Regions from separate parts of the Homo sapiens genome. Here all the other regions are linked to region 1. Evidence: promoter capture Hi-C in human tissues and cell types (Jung and others, 2019). All regions are on one chromosome and are shown on one strand. Each heading gives the region's core, a stretch centred on a gene start or on the middle of the fragment in contact. The rest is flanking DNA. Distances are from core to core; before and after follow the strand shown. Region 1 holds the start of SLC6A3 (solute carrier family 6 member 3). Region 2 has its middle 4.9 kb from the start of MIR4457. Region 3 has its middle 58 kb from the start of LPCAT1.

Evidence for each region. Contacts are between HindIII fragments. The study calls those that stand out against the background at their distance.
Region 2: a fragment that was not itself captured here is called in contact with the fragment with the promoter of SLC6A3 in region 1 in 1 of the 25 tissues and cell types used here (lymphoblastoid cells).
Region 3: a fragment that was not itself captured here is called in contact with the fragment with the promoter of SLC6A3 in region 1 in 3 of the 25 tissues and cell types used here (heart left ventricle, small bowel and stomach).

Annotation. Positions count from the first base shown.
Region 1 is chr5:1,443,865-1,447,883 of GRCh38, forward strand. It overlaps SLC6A3 (solute carrier family 6 member 3), which reads right to left and starts at 1,576. Exons shown (of 15, transcript NM_001044.5): 1 at 1,484-1,576. RefSeq lists an enhancer at 2,214-2,713. The HindIII fragment of the contact is 20,714 bases long and covers 1-4,019 here.
Region 2 is chr5:1,312,276-1,316,253 of GRCh38, forward strand. No RefSeq gene overlaps it. Among named protein-coding and RNA genes, the nearest start is that of MIR4457, 4.9 kb to the left of the region's middle. RefSeq lists enhancers at 753-822, 3,641-3,978. The HindIII fragment of the contact is 3,780 bases long and covers 521-3,978 here.
Region 3 is chr5:1,579,659-1,583,292 of GRCh38, forward strand. It overlaps the pseudogene SDHAP3. Among named protein-coding and RNA genes, the nearest start is that of LPCAT1, 58 kb to the left of the region's middle. The HindIII fragment of the contact is 4,730 bases long and covers 1-3,634 here.

The DNA of each region.
Region 1 (4,019 bases), core at 326-2,825:
TTGTTGTTTTTTTGTAGAGACAGGGTCTGACTATTGTTGCCAAGGCTGGTTTTGAACTCCTGGTCTCAAGCGATCCTCCTGCCTCAGCCTCCCAAAGTGCTGAGATGACAGGCATGAGCCACCAAGCCTGGGCTTGTATTGTTTATACTCAGTAATAAAGAGCAAAATTTATATAAGCAAAATCAGCCACTGTAAAGAGAGTTTAGACATAACCATCACAACTGCTTCCTCAAAAAGTGTCTGTACAAGCCACATCCACCTAGGGCAGGTGGCACCACCCCGCGTGAGAGAGCTGGGCGGAGGATGGACAGGGCTTCATCGCGGGAACTAGCTCCTGGGCCAGCAGGGTAACCCGGGAAATCCTGTCCAAACGGCTACATAAACCCCCCTGCAACGCTGAGCAGGAGAGCAGGAGCGTCTACACCGCCCCAGCCAGGGCGACTTCTGTCATTTGGATCCAGCAGCAGCGTGTTTCAGTCGAGCGCACGCACACACAGACACACAGACACACACAGACTCACAAACACACATACACACTCACACACACACAGGCGAGCACATACACTTACACACATACACACTCACACTCACACAGGTGCGCACACACACACAACGACTGAAGCAGGTCGCAGGTGGAGGCTCTAACAGGCAACTTTCCCTGCATCCAAGTTTGCACAAAACCTCACCCATGAGCTATCACGAGCTATGCCACGCACCCGGTGACAACCTCAACCGGCACGACCCCTCCGGTGGGTAAAACACCCGACGAAGGGGTTCCGCGGCGCGAGCAGGAGGCCGCGTTGGGAGAGGGCGTCGGGTGCGGAGCTCGCGAGTCTCCGGCAAGCCGCCGCCGCCCTGGGGCCACCTGACCCCGCTCCTGAACGCGGGGCCTCAGAGGCGAGTTTTGGGTCTACACAGCAAAATGTGGCCCGTTAGAAAGCGTCCTTCCTCACCGCGCCCAGAACAAGAAGCGGCGCTGCCTGGCGAGTCCTCGCCCGGCCTCCCCGCCCTGCCCAGAGCACCAGCGCGCAGCCCGCGCCCGCCACCACCCCCAACACAGACAAAGCCCCCGCGAGATGGAGCGGCGGTGTACAAAACCCACTCCGATCGGATCTGGGATGCGCCGCACCCCTAGTAGGGTTAAGTTCCACGAGAAGAAACCAGGACCCCCGAGTCACAGCCATAGACACCCACGCGTCCCCTAAGCCGGTGACTGCACCAGGTGCCCACCCGGTTCTGAGCCTGGAGCGGGGCCAGGGGCAGCCCTGCACCCTCCTCGCGCCTCGGACGGCCTCAGGGTCCCATGTGGCGCTATCGGGGGGCGCTCGGCACCCGCGACTGTTGGCGACTTTGGAGACGGCGCGGTCTGCGGGACGCGGGGACCCCAGACTGTGCCCGGTCCCCGGCCCCCGCCCCTGCGCCCCACTTCGGGGTCTGCGGAAGGAGCGGGGCGCCCCGATGCCGCGAGCGACGCTGGCCTCACCTGGCCGCCCGGGCCTGGGCTTTGCACGCGAGTCCTGGCGCCGAGAGCGTTCCGCGAAGCCTCCCCTCCCGCTCCGCAGCGCTGGGCGGTCTCAGCCTCGGCCTCGGGCTCTTATCCAGTAGACAGGGTCCGCCCCGCCCCGCCCTCCCGCCGACGGGGTCGCCCTCGCGTCCTGGCTCCTCCTCCTCACCTCCCCGGGCCGCGCCCCCGCCCCCGCCTCCCGGACGCAGATGGCTGGGAGCAAGCGGCGGCCACGGCTCCACTGTCCTGCGCGTCCCGGAGCCTCGGACACGGGGTGCGGGGGCCTGGGGGTCCGAGACGTCGCGGATCTAGACGGGCGCCTTCCACGCGGGAACTGTCTGGGCCGCCCTGCGCCCTCGCCCGCACCCCTGGGGGCTGCCCCGGGCACCCGCTATCTTCGGACGCCCAGGGCTGGCGGCTCCCAGCTGGACGGGGAGGGAGCCGAGCGGCTGCGCGCGGGGAACTGCTGGGACCCCGTCGGGCCGACCCTTCCCTCCCTCCCCATCAGGGGCCCCTACGGTGGCCCCGCGCTCTGGGGACCACGTCCCTCCCACCCCGCCGCTCCACGCTCTGACCAGCGGGCTCGGGACCCCGCCGAGGACTCTGCACGCTTCCCGGCGTGCGGGCTGCGGAGACGCGGGTCCTTCCGTGGCCTTGGGGTCTCCGCGACCTCGAGGCGACCGAGGTCCCCTAGGCCTAGTCCCCGCCTTGCCGGCATCTAGTGCGCCTGCATCGGAACCGAGGGGCCCGCCTCGCACTCGCCTAAGAAAACCATTTCCCGGGACGGGCCTGGAAAGCCCTGGCGGTTGGTATCCGGCTCCAGGGCCGAATGGACTCCGAGGCTTTCCTTCCGAGATGCCCGGGCGGGATTTCTTCCATTCAGCGCGCGGAGGAATGGAGCCCCCAGGCCGCCAAGGCCCAGGATGTCCAGGTCCTTAGAAGGCACCGAGGTGAGTGGCCGCGCCCAGCTCTGTGCGTCGCCCCTAGGGTCGCCCGAACCCCGGCGTTCCTCCCCGTGTACCCTCGATGCTCCCGTGAGCACCCTGCCCTGGGCGTCCAGGCGAGCCCTGGGGCTCTCCAGCCATTCCAGCCTGCAGCCCGCGCTCAGCAGTGAGGGAGGCAGGGACCCTTGGTGCCTGACTCCGCAGTACCCGCCCGCAGCGCGGTGCCCCACCCCCTGCGCCCGCCCCGCACTCCCCGCACACCACCACTCCCCTCCCCGCCCCCCGCTCCCCCGCTCCCCGGCTCCGGGGCTGGCACCCAGGCAGAAGGCACTCAGGGCTGTGACTTCACGCTGAGTTGGAATCAAGTGGGAGCCTAGTGACCCCCTGGGGCTGCCATGACAAAAAACTCCACAGCCTGGGGGCTCACACAGAAGCCTTCAGTTCTAACGGTTCCGGTGTCCCGAGGCCAAGGCCTGGCCGACTCTGTGTCTGGTGAGGGCCGCTTCGGGGTTGCAGACAGTTCTCTCCCTGTATCTCCCCACGCTAGGGGCTGGGGAGAGCTCTCCGGGGTCTGTTTTATGAGGGCACTGGTCCCATTCCTCAGGGTGGAGCCCTCCTGGCCTGACCACCTGAAGGCCTCCTGACACCACCTCCCATCAGGGGTGGGACTTCATCGCCAGGGAGGTGAGGGGACTTCAGGAGAGGGGGATGTGCCACCTCGAAGCTGTAGTGTGTCAGTGGCTGCCACAGAAGGGATCTCTCTACCCCTATTATCTCCATGGCACAGGTTTCAATAAAAAGGAGTGAGCCAGGGCTTGGCCCCAGAGCAGCAGGGTTGAGGAAACAGTCTCCCAAGGAAAAGACTTTGCAGGTGACTAAGGGAGGCTGTTAAATAAAACACACAGAGAGAATGGATGTTCAGGTATATTAAAAATACACAGGCCAGGAGTGAGGGCTCACGCTTGTAATCCCAGCACTCTGGGAGGCCGAGGAAGGAGGATCTCTTGAGGCCAGGAGTTTGAGACCAGCCTGGGCCACATGGCAAAACCCTGACTTTGAAAAAAAAAATTAGCCAGGCATGGTGGCCCACACCTGTAGTCCCAGCTACTGGGGAGGCAGAGGTGGGAGAATAGCTTGAAGCTGGGAGGTGGAGGTTGTAGTGAGCTGAGATTGCGCCATGGGCCACAGGATGAGACCCTGTCTCGAAACAAAACAACACACAGGCAAACAGCGTTTGGGAAGGGATTGCAAGCGCTGCAGGAGCGCAGAATTGTGACCCAAAGCTAACAGGGTACAGGCAGGAAGGTGCAGGGACTAGAGGTCACACAGATCCAGGCAGCCACATCCTTACTGACCAGTAGCACACAGAGAATGCACCTGCCACACTCAGGAGGGGCCACTGAGTGATCACACGCATGTAACCTGCACTCTGCCAAGACAAAGAGCATTCCTCCACCCCTGCCTCAACCCCGACTTCCAACCACATGAATTAGGATAAAGGAGCTTTGGGTGCTCTAAGAACAAACTAACTGCGGGAGTTGGGCTCATGGATGACACAGAGAAAGCGCAGC
Region 2 (3,978 bases), core at 1,161-3,660, 130 kb before region 1:
CTGATCTGGGACCGTGGCCTCCAGAACTGAGTTGGCCAATGTCTGCTATTGAAGCTGCCAGCCACAGTGCTTTGTTGTGGCCGCCCCCACAAGCTCACACAGGGGTGGAGAAGCAGACGTTGCCACAGGTGTCACGTAAATCAAGACAGTGCTATGCCAATGTCATGCCAAGGCAGTTGATATTTGGGCCAGGCGCAGTGGTGCACACCTGTAGTCCTAGCACTTTGGGAGGCCGAGGTGGGTGGTGGATTGCTTGAGCCCAGGAGTTTGAGATTAGCCTAAGCAACATGGCAAGACCCCATTGCTACAAAAAAATACAAAAATTGGCTGGGCATGGTGGCTCAGGCCTGTAATCCCAGCAATTTGGGGAGCTGAGGTGGACAGATCAATTGAGGTCAGGAGTTCAAGACCACCCTGGCCAATATGGTGAAACCGCCTCTACTAAAAATACAAAAATTAGCCAGGTGTGCCTGTAGTCCCAGCTACTCAGGAGGCTGAGGTGGGAGGATCGCCTGTGCCCAGGGAGGTTGAGACTGCAGTGAGCTGAGATTGCACCACTGCACTCCAGCCTGGACAACAGAGTTAGACCTTGTCTTGAAAAAAAAAAAAAAGACAGTTGTCATTTTAGGTCAAACGGACAAATTCTTTAAACAAAATATAATAAAACATCAAGGGGAAATAGAAAATCTGCATGGTATTATTATCACAGAAGTTACAAAAATTAAAACAGTAGTGAAAAAAATATCCCACAAAGGAAACCGCAGACTTAGGCGGTTTCATCAGTTGCATCCACAAATGCCTTAGGGGATGATTTTAGACAACAGACAGGAGGAAATGGTCTCAGCCTCACCGTCCGTGGCCACGGCAGCTTCAGTGAGCCAGCCCTGCACAATCAGCTCTGCAAGGTGTGATTGGAGGGAACAGGAAACAGAAAACACAAAGAGAAGCCACCCAGAGGGTTGGTGAGGATACAAAGGGTTTTCAACGCCGCTAGTCAGCAGGGAAATGCACATTTAAACCGCGAAAAGGCTCCACTACACACCCACCAGAGTGGCTAAAATTAGACAGCAGCATTGTGTGCTGGAGAAGGGGTGATGCCATGGGGCTCACATGCCACAGTGCACAGCCAGAGTGGCACAGACCCCTTAGAACACGGGTGACATGTACTGGAGCTCAGCACACATGCACCACAACAGCCATGTCCCCCCTGGGTCTGTGCCCAAAGGCAGGCACAGCCACGTGCATGATTTGATCCGTAACGGCCCCGGTTCGTGCCATGGAATGCCACATGGAAGAAAGTCACAATGAGCACCGCTTGCGACAACACAGATGGACGCCAGACAGAGCCCAGCCCGAGAACCTGGGTACCAGAGCTCCCAGCATGACTGTTCATGTGTGGGACTTGGACCCGGTGACCCATGGGCTGGGTTCACCCGCCTGGTTTCCACTGAGAGGGCCCCGTGGGGCCGGGGTCTGTCTGTAGCCTGACTCGGGTGCTTGGTGCTGGAGTCTGGAAGCATGCAGGGCTTGTTGAGCTGCACGGGGTGCATCTGCCATGACACTGTGTGGAAATTGTATAGCAACAAGTTTTTTAAAAGTGCCTGCCGGCCTGGTGCAGCAACTCATGCCTGTAATCCCAGCACGTTGGGAGGCCAAGGCGGGCAGATCACGTGAGGTCAGGAGTTCAATACCAGCCTGGCAACATAGTGAAACCCCATCTCTACTAAAAATACAAAAATGAGCCGGGCGTGGTGGCAGATGTCTGTAACCCCAGCTACTCGAGAGGCTGAGGCAGGAGAATCGCTTGAACCCGGGTGGCAGAGGTTGCAGTGCCAGCCTGGGTGACAGAACGAGACTCCGTCTCAAAAAAAAAAAAAAAAAAAAAGTGTCTGCCTCTCAGTGCACCAGCTGAGTCCAGCCAGCAGGACAGAAGCCACTGGGACATCACACTGAAGGTTCAACAAGGGAAATGGCAGGATGAGGGGGAGGTGGGCATGTCCCCCCAGACATCCCGGTTCAGCCCCAGAACCGCGGATGTGATCCCACGTGCCAGAGTGGACTCGGTGGCCACCATCACACTTGGATCTTGGATGGGAGATGATGCTGGGTAATCGTCTGGGACTGATGTAACCACAGAGGGTCGGGGTGAGAATCAGGGATATGACCACGGAGGCAAAGGTTAGGGTGAGGCGAAGAAGGCCACAAGCCCGGGAATGCAAGGAGCACAGCTCTCGAGGTGGAGAGCACGAGGAACGGAGCACCTGGAGCCCCTGGAGGGCAGGGCCTGCCCACACCCCAGTGGCCGCGCAGGGAGGTCTGGTCTGGACTCCTGGCCTCCAGAACCATCAGAGAACAAATATGCTGCTTGAAGCATGAAAGCTGTGGGGATGGTGGCCGTGGCTGGGGGACACTCAGGCGGTGGCTTTTCTGGGACCAGTGTCTCTGCAGAGGCTGCTGCTCTGAAAGCATGGTGGGCCACAGGGCGCCACACCCCCTTGGGTCCTGTGCCTGCTTCAGGAAAGGGGTAAGCAGTGTGGTATACGCCAAGACCTCCTCCTGGTTTCCCTCCTCCGCATGGATCACTCCTCGAACACAGCCCCTGCTTCGTCAGGGTTCCGTAGCCTCACCTATCGCAGGCTGCACCCCATCCTTCCTCCAGACCCCTGGCCTGTGGGGCTTACCGGGGCCGAGGCCAACAGACTGATCTCGTTGCCAAAGACCCAACAGCCACCAAACTGGCTTCAACAGGGCTATGTGTGGCAGGTACTTCACAGGGGGACGTGTTCTCATTTTCCTTGGCTTTCTAATAAACTCTGGTCTAAAGAAAATCTCTTCTATAAAATGAGTGGCCAGTGCCAAGGGGTAGAGACAGAAGCTCCTTCTGGACACTGGCTGCTCCAGTAGAGCCCATCCTGCCCAGGTACGGAGCCCACCAGCTGCGATCAGGACACTGCAGTTCCACCGTGGGGGACCCCGGGCCCTCACCTTGTCAGTCCTCTGTTTCAGCTTCGAGGGCTTTGACACAGTCTAAAATCCACAGGTACTTAGCGCATTTCTAAGTCCCACCTCATGATCAATCATAAGACAGGGCTTTGATGGTATGCAGAAATATCAATGAAATCCAAGAGGAAAACAGAACTAAACTCATCGGGATGAATGACAGATAAACCCTTTAAGCATGTTTCAAGTCGCCCAGGTGGAGCCTCTGTTGGTCAGTGAAGCTTCAGGGTTCCCATGAGATGGATCTGCATGAGGCTCAGTCCTCTCTTGAAACACTGCCCATTTGCAGGAGCGCCGGCCCACAGGGCAGAAGTCAGACTGTCAGAGCAAGTGCCGGTCCTGAAGCTGGAAGGACTTTCAAGGCTCATTCCCCAAACTCATTTTTTTTTAAACCTCTGCTCATCTTAAAGAAAGGAGAGGCAGGCGCCCCAGAAACCTCTCAGGAGTAACTGACACACGTGACTTGCGGTGTCTTCAAAGGAACACTCTGCAACTTGCTACTGTTTAAACAGAGCAAGACTAACAGTCACCAGCAGCTGGTTCACGCATTAAGGCCCTTTGCAGGTGAAAGAAAACGGCACTGGAGGGCCGACTGCAGAAGCAGACGCAGTGCACGGTGGACATCTGCCCCTTTTGGGGGCCTGCCACGGTGCTTCCTGAAAACTCAGGTTAAGCTGACTCTGCTGTCAGGCTGATGAGGCGCCTGCACCCACCTTTGCTCAGCACGCCAGCCCAAATGGAAGAGCAGGTGCTATGACAAAAATCAGTTCTTGTAGCAACTATTTTTGATACTGAAACTGAAAAGCGAGAGCAGCAAAGCTATCCACGGAGCTCCTGACAGTTAGGCCCGGCTTTGGCTGCTGATGCAGGGGCCGAATGACGCTATTTCTGCAGCAGCCGGCCGCAGGCGCTGACCCACCGCGGGATGTGCCCCAGGAGGCAGAAGAAACGCTGGGAACCGCACCTAACCTTGCCAGC
Region 3 (3,634 bases), core at 62-2,561, 140 kb after region 1:
TTAAAGTTAATAATGCGATTCAATTGCTTATGGGGTGTCCTGTAGTACCTGTTTTCCCCCTTTTGCTTCTGCAACTGCTGTTTCAGGGAGAGATTCATTCTTTCCACTATGGCTTGTCCTTCAGAATTATATGGGATATCAGTAATGTGTTTAATATTCCGTATAGAGAAAAATTTAGCTAGAGCTTGAGAATTAGGTTCCAATCCTCGAGGATTAACTCCTCCTGTAAAAGATGAGGAATGTACCATTTGGCAAGTTGGGCATCGCTGGATAATAGCTTTAGCTTCTTTCCAGGTACTGCTGTATCTGCGTTTGAGACCAGAGGTATTAACACGGGTTAAATTGTGAAAGTGTCCAGCATTAGATATTGCAGTAGCAACTAGGCGATCAGCCATTTGATTCCCTGCAGTCAAAGGTCCTGGAAGAGGTGTATGAGCCCTAATGTGAGTGATGTAAAAAGGGTGCATTCTACTCCTAACTGCTGTTTGCAATTGCATAAATAAAGTCATCAGTTGTTCATCTGTATGAAATCGTAACTCAGCATTTTCAATTAATTGTGTCGAATGAACCACATATGAAGAATCAGAAATCACATTAATAGGCATATTAAAAGCAGTCAATACCTCAATTACAGCTACAAGCTCCGTTTTTTGAGCTGAAGCATAGGGTGTCTGGAAAACTTTACCTTTCGAGCCAGAGTAAGAAGCTTTACCATTACTAGACCCATCTGTAAAAACATTCTCCACACGTTCAATTGGTTTAGTTATTTTAGGGAGAATACAATTAGTTAATTTCAAAAATTGAAACAGTTTCATTTTAGGAAAATGATTATCGAGAATACCCAAAAAGTCAGCTAAATGGGTTTGCCAAGTAAGACTATTTATAAAATCTTGCTGTATTTGTGCCTTCGTGAGAGGGACAATTTTTTCAGGATCATATCCATGTAATTTAACAATCCGAGTTCTCCCATTTCCTATCATAGTAGCAATTTGATCCAAATAAGGAGTTAGAGGCCATGAATTAGTATGTGGAAGAAAAAGCCATTCTACAAGATCTTGCTCTTGAACAATAACACCAGTAGCTGAATGTGGAGTTGGAAAAATTAGCAAATCTAGAGTCTTCTCTGGATCTATTCTATTTATTTGGGCTTTATGGACTTGCTTTTAGATCAGCTGCATCTCGAGTCTTCTCTGGATCTATTCTATTGATTTGGGCTTTATGGCCTTGCTTTTCAATCAGCTGCAGCTCGAGTCTTCTCTGGATCAATTCTATTCATTTGGGCTTTATGGCCTTGCTTTTTGATCAGCTGCAGCTCGAGTTTTCTCTGCATCTATTCTATTGATTTGAGTTTTATGGCCTTGCTTTTCGATCAGCTGCAGCTCGAGTCTTCTCTGGATCTATTCCATTTATTTGGGCTTTATGGCCTTGCTTTTTGATCAGCTGCAGCTCGAGTCTTCTCTGGATCTATTCTATTTATTTGGGCTTTATGGCCTTGTTTTTCGATCAGCTGCAGCTCGAGTCTTCTCTGGATCGATTCTATTGATTTGAGCTTTATGGCCTTGCTTTTCAATGAGCTGCAGCTCGAGTCTTCTCTGGATCGATTCTATTGATTTGGGCTTTATGGCCTTGCTTTTCGATCAGCTGCAGCTCAAGTCTTCTCTGGATCGATTCTATTTATTTGGGCTTTATGGCCTTGCTTTTTGATCAGCTGCAGCTTGAGTCTTCTCTGCATCGATTCTATTGATTTGGGCTTTATGTCCTTGCTTTTTGATGAGATGCAGCTCGAGTCTTCTCTGGATCATTTCTATTTATTTGGGCTTTATGGCCTTGCTTTTCGATCAGCTGCAGCTCGAGTCTTCTCTGGATCGTTTCTATTTATTTGGGCTTTATGGCCTTGCTTTTCGATCAGCTGCAGCTCGAGTCTTCTCTGGATCGATTCTATTTATTTGGGCTTTATGGACTTGCTTTTCGATTAGCTGCAGCTCTGCCTCAGCTTCTCTTGTTAATTACCGAGGGCTGGTGAGACTAGGATCTCCTCTAAGGATAGAAAACAGATTACTCATGGCATAGGTAGGAATGCCTAGAGCAGGTTGTATCCAGTTAATGTCCCCTAGTAATTTTTGAAAGTCATTTAATGTTTTCAATTGATCCCTACGTATGGCTACTTTCTGTGGCACAATGGTAGTGTCATTTACTAAGGTTCCCAAGTAGGAGTAAGGAGTAGTAATCTGAATTTTGTCAGGAGCTATAATTTAACCAGCACCAGAAATTGAATTTTGCAAGTGATCATAACACTGGAGTAATATTTCTTGAGTAGGGGCAGCACAAAGTATATCATTCATATAATGAATAATGTAACACAGTGAAAATGTTTTACGAGGAGGTTCAATTGCTTGCCCTACACAAATCCGGCAAATCGTTGGACTGTTTAACGTGCCTTGTGGCAACACTTTCCAATGAAAACGCTTAGCAGGCTGCAGGTTGTTTACTGCAGGAATTGTAAATGCAAACCGTTCACAGTCTTGCTCAGCTAAGGGGATAGTAAAGAAACAGTCTTTTAAATCTATGACTATTAAAGGCCAATTTTTTGGAATCATAGCAGGAGAAGGCAATCCTGGCTGTAATGTCCCCATAGGTTGTATAACTGAATTAATGGCTCTTAAGTCAGTTAACATTCTCCATTTACCTGATTTTTTCTTAATTACGAAAATTGAAGAATTCCAAGGGGAAAATGTTGGAGCTATGTGTCCCTTTTCTAATTGTTCATTAACTAAGTCCTCTAAAGCCTCCAGTTTCTCTTTACTCAGCGGCCATTGTTCCATCCAAATTGGCTTATATGTTAACCATTTTAAAGGTATAGGTTCTGGAAGCTTAACAATGGCTGCCATCAAGAATAATATCCTAAACCTTGGCAGGAACTGTCTTTCCACTTGAAGTGGTTCTTTCAAACCTTGCAAATTTTTTCCTAGTCCCATACCAGGGACATACCCCATTTCATGCATCATATGCTGACTTTGAGGGCTATATAATTGCTCTGGAATTAGAACTTGTGCTCCCCATTGTTGTAATAAATCTCTTCCCCATAAATTTATAGGTACAGAAGTTATAATTGGTTGAATAGTCCCAGGTTGTCCATTGGACCCTTCACAATGGAAATATAACTACTTTGATATACTTCAGGGGCTTTACCAACTCCAACTATGTTAAATTGAGCAGGTTGAATTGGCCACGCGGATGGCCAGTGCTGTAGAGAAATGATTGAAATCTCCGCTCCTGCATCTACCAAACCTTAAATTTCTTTCCCTGAATAGTTATTTCACAGGTAGGACGTTTATCAGTAATTTGATTCACCCAATAAGCTGCTTTGCTTTGTATATTTGTACTTCCTCCTGTTCGTTTAGTTTCACTTTTCCCCATTTCCACATATGGCACAATCAGGAGCTGTGCTATATGCTCTCTTGGCTCTGTTTTCCAGGGAACAGAAGTAGATATAACACTTTGAGTTTCCCCATTGTAATCTGAATCAATGACTCCTGTGTGTATTTGTACTCCTTTTAAACTTAAACTAGACCTTCCTAAAAGTAATCCTATTGTCCCCGCTGGCAAGGGTCCACAGACTCCTGCTGGGACCTTT